Regions from separate parts of the Homo sapiens genome. Here regions 2 and 3 are each linked to region 1. The links are contacts of gene promoters, found by promoter capture Hi-C in human tissues and cell types (Jung and others, 2019). All regions are on one chromosome and are shown on one strand. The core of a region is centred on a gene start or on the middle of the fragment in contact, and the rest is flanking DNA. Distances in the headings are between cores, read along the strand shown.

Evidence for each region. Contacts are between HindIII fragments. The study calls those that stand out against the background at their distance.
Region 2: a contact is called between a fragment that was not itself captured here and the fragment with the promoter of HOXB13 in region 1, in 1 of the 25 tissues and cell types used here (IMR-90 fibroblasts).
Region 3: a fragment that was not itself captured here is called in contact with the fragment with the promoter of HOXB13 in region 1 in 2 of the 25 tissues and cell types used here (pancreas and thymus).

Annotation. Positions count from the first base shown.
Region 1 is chr17:48,726,245-48,731,058 of GRCh38, forward strand. HOXB13 (homeobox B13) reads right to left here and starts at 2,506. Exons shown (of 2, transcript NM_006361.6): 1 at 1,749-2,506; 2 at 1-799. The coding sequence starts at 2,349. The coding sequence ends at 546. The HindIII fragment of the contact is 5,391 bases long and covers 1,991-4,814 here.
Region 2 is chr17:48,244,499-48,249,149 of GRCh38, forward strand. All of the region lies in intron 4 of SKAP1 (src kinase associated phosphoprotein 1), which reads right to left. Among named protein-coding and RNA genes, the nearest start is that of SKAP1-AS2, 48 kb to the right of the region's middle. The HindIII fragment of the contact is 4,898 bases long and covers 1-3,731 here.
Region 3 is chr17:48,216,647-48,220,836 of GRCh38, forward strand. The region is part of intron 4 of SKAP1 (src kinase associated phosphoprotein 1); the gene reads right to left. Among named protein-coding and RNA genes, the nearest start is that of MIR1203, 62 kb to the left of the region's middle. RefSeq lists an enhancer at 2,691-3,533. The HindIII fragment of the contact is 4,962 bases long and covers 404-4,190 here.

The DNA.
Region 1 (4,814 bases), core at 1,256-3,755:
CCACCTACCCAGCTGTCAGCTGAGAAAAATGCTAAACGGACATCACAGCCACACAACGAATCTGCCCGTTCCCCTCTCCTCAGTCTTCCTGCTGTTACCAGGGTGAGAGGTGTAATGGAAGGGGGTCTGAGAGAAAGCTTCCCTGCAAAGGGATCGCCTTCCAAATTTATTCATAATTAGCTCAATTCATGAAAGCGGTTTCTAAAGTGCTCTACAGAGCTCTAGATAGAAAATATGAGGCTAACGATCATGGCAGCTAGTACTGGTTATCGTGATTATTGCCACTGTCAGGATGAATGATTATGACTGGGCCAGGTTCTTTGGGAACCCTGGTGGAGTGGGCTGTCACATGGGGTTCCGTCTCCCTGCACATACTGGGTACCCAGGCCGCTCCTGAGGAACAGTCCAGCAGCCAGTGGCCTGGGAAGGGTGTTGTCTCTAGGGGCCTCTCAGCAGAGTCCTTGGCCCCAGCCTGGGCTTGGCAGGTTCCTGGTCTCCCCAGGACACCCCCACTTTCGCTCCTCCCACCCAGGCAAGGAGATCTCTTAAGGGGTAGCGCTGTTCTTCACCTTGGCGAGAACCTTCTTCTCTTTGACCCGGCGGTTCTGAAACCAGATGGTAATCTGGCGCTCCGAGAGGCTGGTGGCTGCCGAGATCTTGCGCCTCTTGTCCTTGGTGATGAACTTGTTAGCCGCATACTCCCGCTCCAGCTCCCGCAACTGCCCCTTGCTGTACGGAATGCGTTTCTTGCGGCCGCGACGAAAGGCGCAGGCGTCAGGAGGGTGCTGCCCGCTGGAGTCTGCGCGGCGTGAAAGGGAGGGAGGAAAAGGCATGGTCAGATACCCACCCATGCAGACCCAGGCCTTGCAAGCCCCAAGCTAAGTCATCTCACAGGTGCACACAGGTCACCCTACAGGCGCACGTGCAATCCTGTTCCTCCAAAGCATACCAGGACAGCACCCTGGCTTCCGGCTTGTTCTCTCACCACCGCTCAGCCTTGGCTCCTGAAGGCCACCCTCACCCATCACTGCTCTCACACCCGCGAATCTGCAAACATACCCACACACCACACACAGTCAGGCCTTTGCCCACCATCACATACGTCCAGTCTTCATGCATTTCCAGACTCTTGGCCACTCTTTTAGATTCTACAGGCAAATTCTGGAAACACGTTTCTGCCCCCACTCCCAATACATGCGCATACACACACACACACACACATTAACCCATCCCAGTGCACACACATATGTCACGGCTGCAGGAAACCTAAATTTTTCTTTGGAAATTGGAAAACTCATCTAATAGAAAGTGAGAGGTTGTATTCTCTACAGTACATCCAATACCTTTTTACCCATCTCCCACACCCACTCCCCACGCACCGAATTGAGAGTTATTTAGCTTTTGTGTAGAATTAGTTTGGAATTGTGCTGGGTAGGGACACCCTGATCCCCACTCAACAGCAAAGAGATCTAAACCTCTCAGACATGTTGAAAGGCTGGTCCCAGGGCCTCCTGGAGAAGTGAGGTGGCCTTCAGGCTTCAGATAGCACCCAGCTCAGGCCCCTCACACTGACCTCCATCCAGGCCCTCCAGCTACTCAGACCTCCTTCAGAGTCCTAATAACCAAGGGAGGAGCACCAAGCTCATCCTCACCAGCTCCAAGTCTCCCTCCTCCTCCTCCCAGGGAAATGCCATTGGGACCCACAACCCCAGGCTCAGAGACAAGGGGACCCAGGGTAATAGAGGTACCTGCAAATGCTGCCTTCCAAAAGGGACCTGGTGGGTTCTGTTCTCCCTGGCAACACATCTGGCTGTTCCAGCCACCAGCGAGAGCCCAAGACTGGTAACTGTCCACAGGCAACAGGGAGTCATGTCGCGGTTCTCCAGGAGCACCCAGAGTCTGCACCACAGACACGTCCAGGTAACTGGCCATAGGCTGGTAGGTTCCCGGATATCCCGGATAGAAGGCAAACTCAGTGGGGCGGCTGGGGTACTCTTCCCCGGCCGTGGGAGTCTCCGCGGGGTACGCGGCCAGGGTGGCTGCCTGGGCACAGGGTTTCAGCGAGCTCCGGGACACTCGGCAGGAGTAGTACCCGCCTCCAAAGTAACCATAAGGCACGGGAGCTGGGGACGTCCCCTGGGGCACCCCAGGGCATGGGTGGCATTGCTTTGGCGGCTCCGCCGAGCCTGGCAGATCCAAGGGGGCATAGTTGACAGCAGGCATCAGCGTAGGCGCCGCTGGGTGGCTGGTCAGAGGGGAGTGGGCGACCAGATTCCGCCCCCCTCCCGCTCCCAGCAAGCCTTCGATATCCTTGGCTCCATCCAAGGTGGCATAATTGCCGGGCTCCATGGAGCCGAGGGTCGGCTCATGAGGTGCGGGGGCGGGGAATCTAGGGGGCACCCAGCTCGCTCTCCCCACCCAGGCCGGGGGAATCCAAAGCGTTTTAAATCGCTCCCAGCTCGCAAGTCGCCTGCATTCGCTCAGCACGGCCGTCTTGACGCAAGAGACGCAGGGGCCCGGGCACGCGCGCTGATTGGCTGCGGCCTGGGGGAGAGAAGCTAATAAAATCCTAAAGGCAGAAACTGCGAAAATACTTTACCCCAGCTTATTCTCTCTCTCTCTCTCTCTCTTTCTCTCTCTCTCTCTCTCTCTCTCTCTCTCTGTCTCTGTCTCTCTCTCTCGCTCTCTCGCTCTTTCTCTCCTCTCTCTCTTCTCCCTCTCTCTCTTCTTTTCCCTCTCCACTCCTCTCTCTCTCATTCCACTTAAAAACAACAAGAGAGAAAAGGAAGGAGGTGTCCTTTCGCTGCTTTCCAGTTTGCAGAGTCTCATTTACACGTCCGGGGGGAGGGGAGGCGTGGTGGGCGGAGGAAGAGGGGACGAGGAGCCGGGCCCCACCTCCTTCTCCTCCTCTCCCTCCCTAGCTTTCTGTCTCCTGCGCTTTGACAGGTTTAACGAGAGAATAAAAAGCTCTCTCTATAAAGTGTCCATCTCCTGGGGGGGAAGGGGAGTCGGGGGTGGGGCTGGGAGGCCGCTCCCGGCCTCAGAGGAGAACCCGGGAATGCGCCTGTGTAAGAGGAGGCTGGGAAATGGGGGTTAATAGGTATTTCTGGCAGCCCCTGGCTTTGGGTCCTGGGTACTAGCACCCCAGTTCATTCCCGGTACCCTTCCTGTCCCAGATGTCCTGGAATGAGCTGCTCCGGGCCCCAGGGAGGTGCCCTGGACGCCCCTTACCCAGGGACTCGCTACTGCCCAGAATGCTCTGGAGGCCCTGATTCGGGTGAGGCTGAGGGAAGAGGCGGGAGACACGAACGTAGACGTAGAAGACATGCGATCTGGATGGAACCCAGGACACTCCACTTCCGGACCTGAAGGGGAAATGGAGCCTCTAGAGTGGCCTGTGGAAGGGTCTGGATTTCCCTTTAAGTAAAGACATACGGAGGGACGGAGACCCACAGGACTTGAGGGAGGGACGGGGAGAGGGAGAGATGAGACTCAGGGACAGCAACACAAAGAGGGAAAGAGAGAAGCTGACAGAGCGGATGGGACAAAATCTTGTAAAATCCTGAAGTGTCAGTCAGAAAAGAGAAAGAAGAGAGGCACTTTCCCCCTTTTTTGGGATCTAAAGAAGTCTGAGGAAGCCAAGCCTGGCTGACTGCCAGAAACCAGCTGCGGGAGTTCTGGACCCCAAGAATACAGACGCCTGTGTGGAGATGCCAGTCTCCCTGCCCTGCAGTCCTCTCCCTATGGTCTGCAAGGGGCCCAGGAAACTGTCCCTGATACTGGCATACTCCCACACAAGCTGAGTACCCAGAAAGCCCAAGACCCCTATCTGCCTCCTGCAAGCTTTAAACTTCCTTACAAGGAAAAGGGAATGGAAGGGGAAACCCCAGCCACTGGCAGAATTGCTTGAGGCCCCTCTGTTGGGGCCTAATGTGCAGTGCAATTCAGAAGAATCAAACGGTTTGTTTCACAAATCTGTCTTTAGAGGTTTTCCGCTTCCTTTACTACCCCTCCCAAATCAAATCCTTCTGTCTGCTTTTTCTAGAACTCCCAGTTTTTCTGGAGAAGACAGGAATGTTTCCATTCTACACGAGGGTCTTGACAATTATATGGAATGGCTTACCCTAAACTCTGGGCAGACTCAATCATAGCCTCTCACCAACCTGACCTTGAACTTGAGCCACTTTGTGGGAAAGGGCCCACAGGCAGTAGTGTACATCACTCCTAATGAGCATTGCTATAATTGAAGACACCAAGCACGAAATCTTCACTAGATCGCATTTGAAAACAATATGGAAGAAAAGGGAGGAGATGTCTCTTCAGTGCTTTCCAGTTTCTCACCAGAGTTTCTTGCTTGTCTAATTATGAACTGCAGAAATATCCAGACTTTTACCTAAAGACTAAGAATTTTTCACCAATTTTTACTTGGTAGATGATAGATATGTAGGGCATGTCCACAGTTTTAGTTTCCACTAGGCAAACACCCACACATGCACATTTATTCATCCTTGTACAGTAGAGGCATTAATAGATCCCTAAATTTAAAAAATAATAATAGTCATAGTCATGCCCTATGACCCAGCAATTCCATTCCTGGGCATAAACCCAACAGAAATGAACCTTTATATCCATCAAAAGTCATGTACTAGTAGGTCCACAGCAGCTTTATCTGTAGTTGCTCAAAGCCACCCATGGCAGCGCACGCCTGTAATCCTAGCTACTAATCCTAGTGGAGGTGGGAAGATCGCTTGAGCCCCGGTGTTCAAGACTAGCCTGGGGCCAGGCACAGTGGCTCAGGTCTGTAATCCCAGCAC
Region 2 (4,651 bases), core at 33-2,532, 480 kb before region 1:
TTATCTTTATCTTCCTGTCAGGTCATAAATACCTCTCACTCAAGCTTCACTCACAGCTGGGCCATGCCAAGCAAGTTTACTTCCTGTTAAAGGTTCCTTTCAGCAAACATTAACAAATAGTTGGGGGAAAGAAAACTGAAAATTCTGCTGATGATACACAGTTATAATATTCCAAAGGAAGCTTGGAAACCTCAAAGAAAGGGTTTGGCCAGACTAAGAAATGACCAAACTGCCTAGCAAAAAGCATGGAGATCCACTTAAAAGAAGATGCGTTCACAGGGAAAATGAGTCAAATAATTAGTTAAAACTTATATTTACATCCAAACAAAATAAAAGAGCTGAATAGTGTCATGGGCTTTCATTCTTTCTTCTAGAACCTCCAAATGATGCATGGATGCTTGCCATTTGTTCCTGAGTCTAAAACCTGGACCATAATCGTAGAAAATGAAAACAGAAGATTTCTAGGAGTAGTAACTCAATACAAAGTCATGCTTAGGCCAAAGGTTAGAGAAAGAACACACCCCTTTACTTTCAGAATTTTGGCTCATGAGGAAGGAGTAACCTGACTCTCTTTCCTTCCTGGGGAACAGTTTTACACTTGGGAAACCATCTGCCTGAAGTACTGCTGGCAGCTCCAAAATTATAGAATCTAAAATGGTAGGAACCTGGAAAATAGTAGGTATCTTCCTCCTTGACTTGGCTGGAGCAGCTGCCCCTCTTGAATTTCTGGGATATAAGATTACAACCAAAAATGACTGTAGTCTTTCTAAAACACAACCCACAATCTGATTTTTTTTTCTTTTTTCTTTTTGTAAAAGCATCATTTTAAGGAACACATTCTGACAAAATAGTTAAGTCTTTTAAAATTACGATAGTGACAGGTTGCTGTTGATTACGAGAAGTAGACTTTTGCTCCAACAGGGATTGTTTAAAAGTGCCTTTATTATGCTTTAGAACGACTGATCCATACTGGCTTATTTCACTCAATCTTTCAATTTTTACATGTGCTTCTAGATAACATGTGACTTTAAAGAGAGAAAAATGAAGACAGCACTTACTATAATAAGTTTTCTATGGTAGTTATAACAAATGGGTTTGAATTCCAGCTCTGACACTTTACTAGCTGTGTGACTTTGGGAAAGTTACTTAACCTCTCTGTGCTTCAATGTCCTCATCTATAAAATGTACAATAAGAGGCCGGGTGCGGTGGCTCACACCTGTAATCCCAACACTTTGGGAGGTCAAGGTGGGTGGATCACTGGAGGTCAGGAGTTCGAGACCAGCCTGGCCAACAGGGTGAAACCCTGTCTCTACTAAAAATATAAAAATTAGCCAGTGTAGTGGTGCATGCCTGTAATCCCAGCTACTCAAGAGGCTGAGGCAGGATAATCGCTTGAACCCAGAAGGCAGAGGTTGCAGTGACCCAAGATTGTGCCACTGTACTCCAGCCTGGGTGACAGAGCTAGACTCCGTCTCAAAACAACAACAACAACAATAACAAAAAACAACAAAAAAACCCACAAAAATTTACAATAATAATGCCTTTCTCAACGGGTTGCTATAAATTAAAATACATAAATCACTTAGAACAGAGCCTGGCACATTGTAGGGGCTCTGTACATTTTAACACACATATAAAATGGAAGACTTAGGTAATTTCATTATCCGTACTGTATCTAAAGCAAAGGATATTGGTTATATTCTTAAAAATCTTTAATTAAGCTGAATATTATACTTCAGACTAGCATTCAAAGGTTTCCAAAAATTAGGCTGGTTTACCTTTACTGTCTCCTCTCATCATCCTCCTACAATTAAGTAACCCTTGTTAGACCGGACTATTTGGTGTTTCCTGAACACATTCTACATTTCCCCACACCTACACCTTTGTGGGTATAGCCCCGTTGCCCTGGAGTTCACTATTCTCACTTCTATCTTCCCCTATCTCTACCTGTTAAAATCATAGCATAGCAGAGGTTCTCTCATTCAAACCATAAAGCTTTATTTTATTTTTTATTTTTATAGTCATCCTTCAAAGCCTGATTCAAATACGGTTCTTCATGGAGTTCTAGAGCTGGAAGAGCTTTAGAGACTAAATGATCTAATTTCTCCTTTTACTAAGGCATGCAGAGATTAAGTGATCTGCCCAAAGACATCAAGCTACAGCTTGGACCACATTTCAGGTCTCCTAACAGTGCAGAGATCTCTGAGAGTTAATCACCCAATCCTGCTGGTCTTTTTCATCACTCTAATCTAAACTGACTGATCTCCTTGGAGCTGCTATGTACTTACAGTACTTATCACACAGCCTCTTGAATTTCAGTTACTTGGGTGCATAACTTATCTCCCACGTCATCTCTCATGTGCCTTTGACACCTCTGTCTATCCCTGGAATGCTTAGAACAGTCTTAACCAGAAGGCATTTAGTAAATATTTGTTGAATTAATGTATGAATGAATGTTAGAAAGAAGGAAATTAAACAACCTTTCCCATCCCCCTGACTCATACCTCTCGCAGTCTCAAAAGTTCTCTCTAACCCAACTATCTGAATTGAACCATCAATTCTAGTGCACAATAAATAAATACCTCCACATCTGCAGAAAAGTGTCACTATACCTAATACATATACACAAATTCACTTACTTTACAAAAGTCTCTGTGTACTCACTGTGTGCATTTCACTTCCAAGTATGCACACAATTTACCAAAGAAGTAGGAGACCAAACCCTGCCTTCCTATTAGTCACATTCCATTGGGAAGACCTGTATACAGCACAACTAGACATCTATTAACTAAGCACCATGAAAGCATGGACATGATAACGAAGGCAAATAGCTAGAAAAAGGGATTCAGGGAGGCTAAAGAAGTAGTAGTTACAGAGGAAGCTGCCAATACTATGCAGCATATCTTATGCTGTCTCTTTTATGGGGCTGCAATTTGCAAGCTAAGCCCAATACAATTTGTTTCCTTCTATCCAATACTTCTGATTTCTTTTCCTCTATCATTCATTTTCTTTACTCAATGATTTAAAGGTAACCGTCTTTTCCTACCTCACAAAAGTTTTAGTTGCTGACCAAAGTTTGACTAAATATCATTTCACGTGTATTTTTCCAGTTGGAGATAGTAAGTCATAGTAACAATACATACACCACCTTTAATTTTTCAAAGTGTTTATATATATATTTTTTCATCCTTTTTCCCCCAGTAAACTCAGCAGGGAGGTGTCAAGTGCAAACCGCATACTATAGATGCATACTCGATGCATAACAGCTACACTTTAATTTTGCAACACTGTTCTACTTCTTTCCTGGAATCTCTCTTCATGAATTTCCTGGAAAGAGGAAAGCAGAAGAAAGGCATATCTCTATTACAATGACCTGCTTATTTTCTTTATCACACTAATCACAATATGTAATTATTTTATTTATTGGTTTAATTCTTTATTGTCGGTCTCCCCAGTAGAATGTAAAACTCCTCAAGTTTACTCTCCTTAAATGTAAAACTCATCTATCTTATTCTTTCATTGTAGGCACTCAACAAGAAATTTCTGAATCGATGAATGAATGATCAACAACACTATTTCTATTAAGGCAAATAGGTCATGATAAAAGAGGCCAATGAACAGACCTCATAGTGTAGAACTGATTAGCTATATTTTTACCCATTTATTCTTCCAAGGATGGCCTGCGCAGGAACAGGTAGTCTTCTTAGTTTTTACTTTTGCCAATTCTTCACCAAGTAATTATTATTTTCTTTGTATACGGTACTGTATGAAAAACTATAGGGGAGGATGGGCACAGGTGGCTCATGCTTGTAATCCTAGGACTTTGGGAAGCCGAGGCGGTTGGATCATCTGTGATCAGCAGTTCGAGACCAGCCTGGCCAACATGGTGAAACTCAATTTCTACTAAAAATACAAAAAATAGCCGGGCATAGTGGCATGTGCCTGTAATCCCAGCTACTCATGAGGCTGAGGCAGAAGAATCGCGCGAACCCAGGAGGTGGATGTTGCAGTGGGCAGAGATTGCGCCGCTGCACTCCAGCCTGGAAGACAGGGCAAGACTCCGTCTCAAAAAAGAAAACAGAAACAAACAAACAAACAAATTGTAGGGGATAAGAAATTTAAGACATAATCCTTGCCGCCAAGGAGCCTATGTGATTACAGCAATACCATAGTAATATAAGACAGCAAATGACAAATGCAAAAAAAAATTATGCAGTCAACATGTGATATCAATCAACAAAGGGAGAAACTGCCTTAGATTGTGTGATCAGGAAGGGCTCCCTGGGAGTGGTGGTAGTATCTGAGTTCAAGATAAGTTTAATTTCTATCAATGAACAGGGTTTAATAGAGGGCCTTTAAAAAAAAATCATGTTATGTCTTAACATACCCCAAGTTTAGATAAGAACATTTAATTAGGCCGGCGCGGTGGCTCAAGCCAGTAATCCCAGCACTTTGGGAGGCCGAGGCGGGCGGATCACGAGGTCAGGAGATCGAGACCATCCTGGCTAACACGGTGAAACCCCGTCTCTACTAAAAACAAAACAAAAAAACAAAAAAAACCCATTTAATTAAATAATATAAACACTTTGAGATCCTCTAATAGACAATAACTTGTCAATGCAAAATAGTTCTATTAGACTATTCAGGTGG
Region 3 (4,190 bases), core at 1,635-4,134, 510 kb before region 1:
ATGCCAGGCTAATTTTTGTATTTTTTGTAGAGACAGGGTTTCGCCATGTTATCTAGGCTAGTCTCGAACTCCTGAGCTCAAGCGATTCAACCACCTCGGCCTCCCAAAGTGCTGGGATTACAGGTGTGAGCCACTGCACCTGGCCTGAATATTCATAAGAGATAAAATTTTGCCCTCTCTTTTGTCAGACATTCTCTAGAATGCATGTTCTTTCATGGACAGATTGGCAAATATTATAAGTATCAGATTCAAAACTTTCTAAGAAATTTAAATGTTGAATTCTTCTAATACAAGAAGCAAAAATTCCATTTTCAGCGTTTCATGTGTTGAGAGTGAAAAGGGGGAATATAAGAAAGAAGTGAAGTCCAGATTTCCTAAAGTACATCTCAGGTAAGCCTCTCTCTTATCACATATTTTATTTTTTTACCTGAAATATTTCAGAACTTAAATGTTTTTGTCAAATTTGAAAAAGGTGTGTGGTATTGACTTCTTCATACTGATCTCATTTTTATTTTCTTTATAGTCTGTCCAAATCATTTTCAGGCCCCTTAAATCAGTTACCTTTCTTCTAGGGACAATCAATAGAAAGCAAGCAAAAAGAAAAAAGAGTGAGACCTGCCCTCTCAGTGGTCTCCTGGGTAACTTTATCTCCCAGACAGGATGATGCAAAGATGAACAGAAGAGGGGTTTCTGAATAGATTTCCAGTAGGATTGCTGTCAAGATGGGATCAGCTGCAATGGTGCCAGATAAAAACTGCAGGAGACCGAGATGGGTGGATTGCTTGAGCTCAGGTGTTTGAGACCAGCCTGGGCAACAGGGCAAAACCCCATTTCTACAAAATACACAAAAATTAGCCTGGCCTGGTGGTGTGCACCTGTAGTCCCAGCTGCTCGGGAGGCTGAGGTGAGAGGATAGCTTGAGCCAAGAGGTCGAGACTGCAGTGGGCTGAGATTGTGCCACTGCACTCCAGCTTGGGTGACAGAGGAAGATATTGTCTCTAAATAAATAAATAAGAAAAGGTTAGGTAAAGGTAAAAATTATATGGAGTCCACTGCAATATCTCTTATCCAAAAGAAATTTGTTAAAAAAAAATTTTAACAGCTCAAACTACCTTTGAGGCTAATAAAGGCACCAAAATGGATTATCAGACCATGATTTGAGGTTTGAAAAAGGATGCCAGTGCTGACTGACTGGGAAGCTATTGGAAATAAATTAAAAGGCTACATTATGTGAAACAGAGGGTCACAGCATAGGAACATCTTGAAAAGCCATAGGTGCACCAATTACATTTATCAAGATGTTAGTGAAAGCTTTGTGTATGGCTTGTTTTTGCAGGTCATTTGTATGAGATATTGTTGGATAAACTGATTTCATAGAGAAGGAGGAAGGTACTAAGTATCACATTGTGTTAATGTGCCAGCTTGCCACCTTTGGGATCAGATTTGGTGCAGGGCACAAATGAAATGAGTTTGGTGGCTTCAAGCTAGGCTACCACTGATATTTATCCTTAAACAAAATCACAAATCATTTGCTAACAGCTAGGATCAGAGACCTGGGGCTGAGACAGTAAGAATGTTGCAGGTCAGGAGGAAGACTAGCTGGCAGAGTTGGGTTAGGGAAGCAGCCATTTCCTCTAGGTCTCCAGCTTGGCTTCAGCTTATGTTACCAACCAACCCTTCTCATCCATAAACACTGACATTCACACTGATTTTACAACCTCTCTTTGCCTGGCAAACCCAACATCAATATTCCCAACAGCATTTCATGAAACCTCTAGTTATCAAAGTCCTCATCACTTAATCAATTCTAAGAATAATAATTTCATAAACACTATGGAAAAGGAGTCCTATTATTAGACTGTAACTGTCCTTAGCAAAATAATGGAACTTGGTTGTTCTAGTGAATTCTAAATTTAAACACTGCTTGCTCTGTCTCCACTCAACGAAGAGCTTGTGTGCTACTCTGATGAAAATGCAAAGAATTAGAAAACAATGACTGTGTGAATGACATTTACAGAGATCTCATACTGGAAAGGGCACATTTTATTGTGACTTTGTGTCAAAAGTGTAGTTTCATCAGAGCACAGGAGGCAAAAGAAACAGGCAATCAATACTTGGGCCTCTAATATCTGAACTGAGAAAGAAAATCATTATCCTGTTACTTCTATTGTAGGGTGATGCTTGAAATACTGCACCTTGTTTCCATAATAATTCAATATTTTGGGGGTTTCAGATTGTTAAAAAAAAAACCCTCATGGGGTGGCCATGTGAAATCAGAACATGAAGAGTAGAAAGGAATAAACATGCACACATTTTACAGTGGGAATAAAGAGAAAGGCAGATTAAGAAAGAGAAATAGAAAAAATATAACAACCTAATTTCCTATTAGTATTTATCTAATAGTATATGTTTAATTTTGGAATCTCTAGAATTAACCTGAAAGAGTTCTTTGCTTCCAATTTTTTGAACAAAACACACAGATTTCCAATAGAGAAGAGTCCCCTCAATATTAATGAGGTTACTTGGGCAGAATTTTTATCTCTAGATTTATTGAAAATTGTATTCCATTGTTGAGAAACTAAAACCCAGGTGGGAACCATGTGGAATGTGACATTTGATTTTAAAAGTCAGTTGTACTATTCACTTCTCATTGGCAAAAAAACTGGCCACTGAACTTGAACTTCTTGCTGACAAAAGGAGAGGAATTATCATCCACAAACCTTTTTGAAACTCTTATATGTCCAGCCTCAAATAAAGCACCAGTTCTGCCTATTTCTAATATGACTGTTTATTGGTTAGTATTTTCAAAACACTTCAAGGCAATTAAACCCTTCCCCCTCTAGATTTCAGCATCCAGTTTAAAAGTCTCTCTGAATACATATTATGGAGAATAGGGTCATGTCAGTTAATGTTAGTTGCAAAAACAAGTACAGCTGTCCTCAACCTGACTTTCATACTTTTGTGTGTTGGTACCATAACCCAGTTATTTAAATTCTGGGTTTTTTCCTCTTAGAATTATTATTGATGAAATTAGCATTATATAGTCATAAAGTCATTACCTGCTTTTCTAGGCTGTCTGCTGCACCCCCATGGAGAGCTAAGTGGGCCCTTAATGAACAAGAAAAGGTTATCTGGCTGCACACGGTGTCTCCCAGTCTGCTCTGGCTAGAAGCTACAGCAGCCACAGATAACAGTTCAAAGTCATGCAAATGAGGGCTAGGCTACCACTTTGTTCCTCACAGAGGAGATGTTCCTGTGATCCACTGGCAAATGTACAATGGAAGCAGGAAAAAAGGATATTTTCAGAGACCTAATCCCTCCAGGCAGCTGGTTTATTTCAATTGAAGAAACTACTACAGCCACCCACCAGAATTGCTAAAATTAAGAAACACTGACAATACCAAGTATCAGTGAGAATGAGGAGCAACTGGAATTTTCACACATTGTTGGTGGGAGTAAAAATGGTACAAGTCTGTTGGAAAAATGTTTGGTAGAATCTCCTAAAGCGGAATACGCACATACCCTCTAATTCAGCAATTCCTCTCCTAGCTATATACCAAACAGAAATGCCAACATAGTGGTGCTCCAAAAGTCTGATATAAGATTGTTCACAACAGCATTATTTACAATATTTCCAAAGCAGAAAAAAACCATACGTTTACCTACCATAGAATGAAATAAAATGAATAAAGGAAATACTATATAGTAATGAGAACAAAGGAACTACATGTGTTTTGCTACATGCAAAAACACGGACAATCCTCACAAATATAATGCTAAATGAAAGAGTCCAGACACACAAAAGTATATATAGTATGAATCTGTTCATATGAAGTTCAAGTATAGGCAAAATTAATCTGGTGATAGAAGTCAGAATAGTAGTTATTTTGGTGGAGATAACTGGGACGGGGCATAAAGAGAAGTTTCAGGCCAGGTGCAGTGGCTCACGCCTGTAATCCCAGCACTTTGGGAGGCTGAGGTGGAAGGATCACTTGAGGTCAGGAGTTTGAGACCAGCATGGCCAACATGGTGGAACCCTGTTTCTACTGAAAATACAAAAGCCGGGCGTGGTTGCACATGCCTGTAATCCCAGCTACTTGGGAGGCTGAGGCACAAGAATCGCTTGAACCCAGGAGGTGGAGGTTGCAATAAGCCCAGATTGCGCCACTGCACTCCAGCCTGGGTGACAG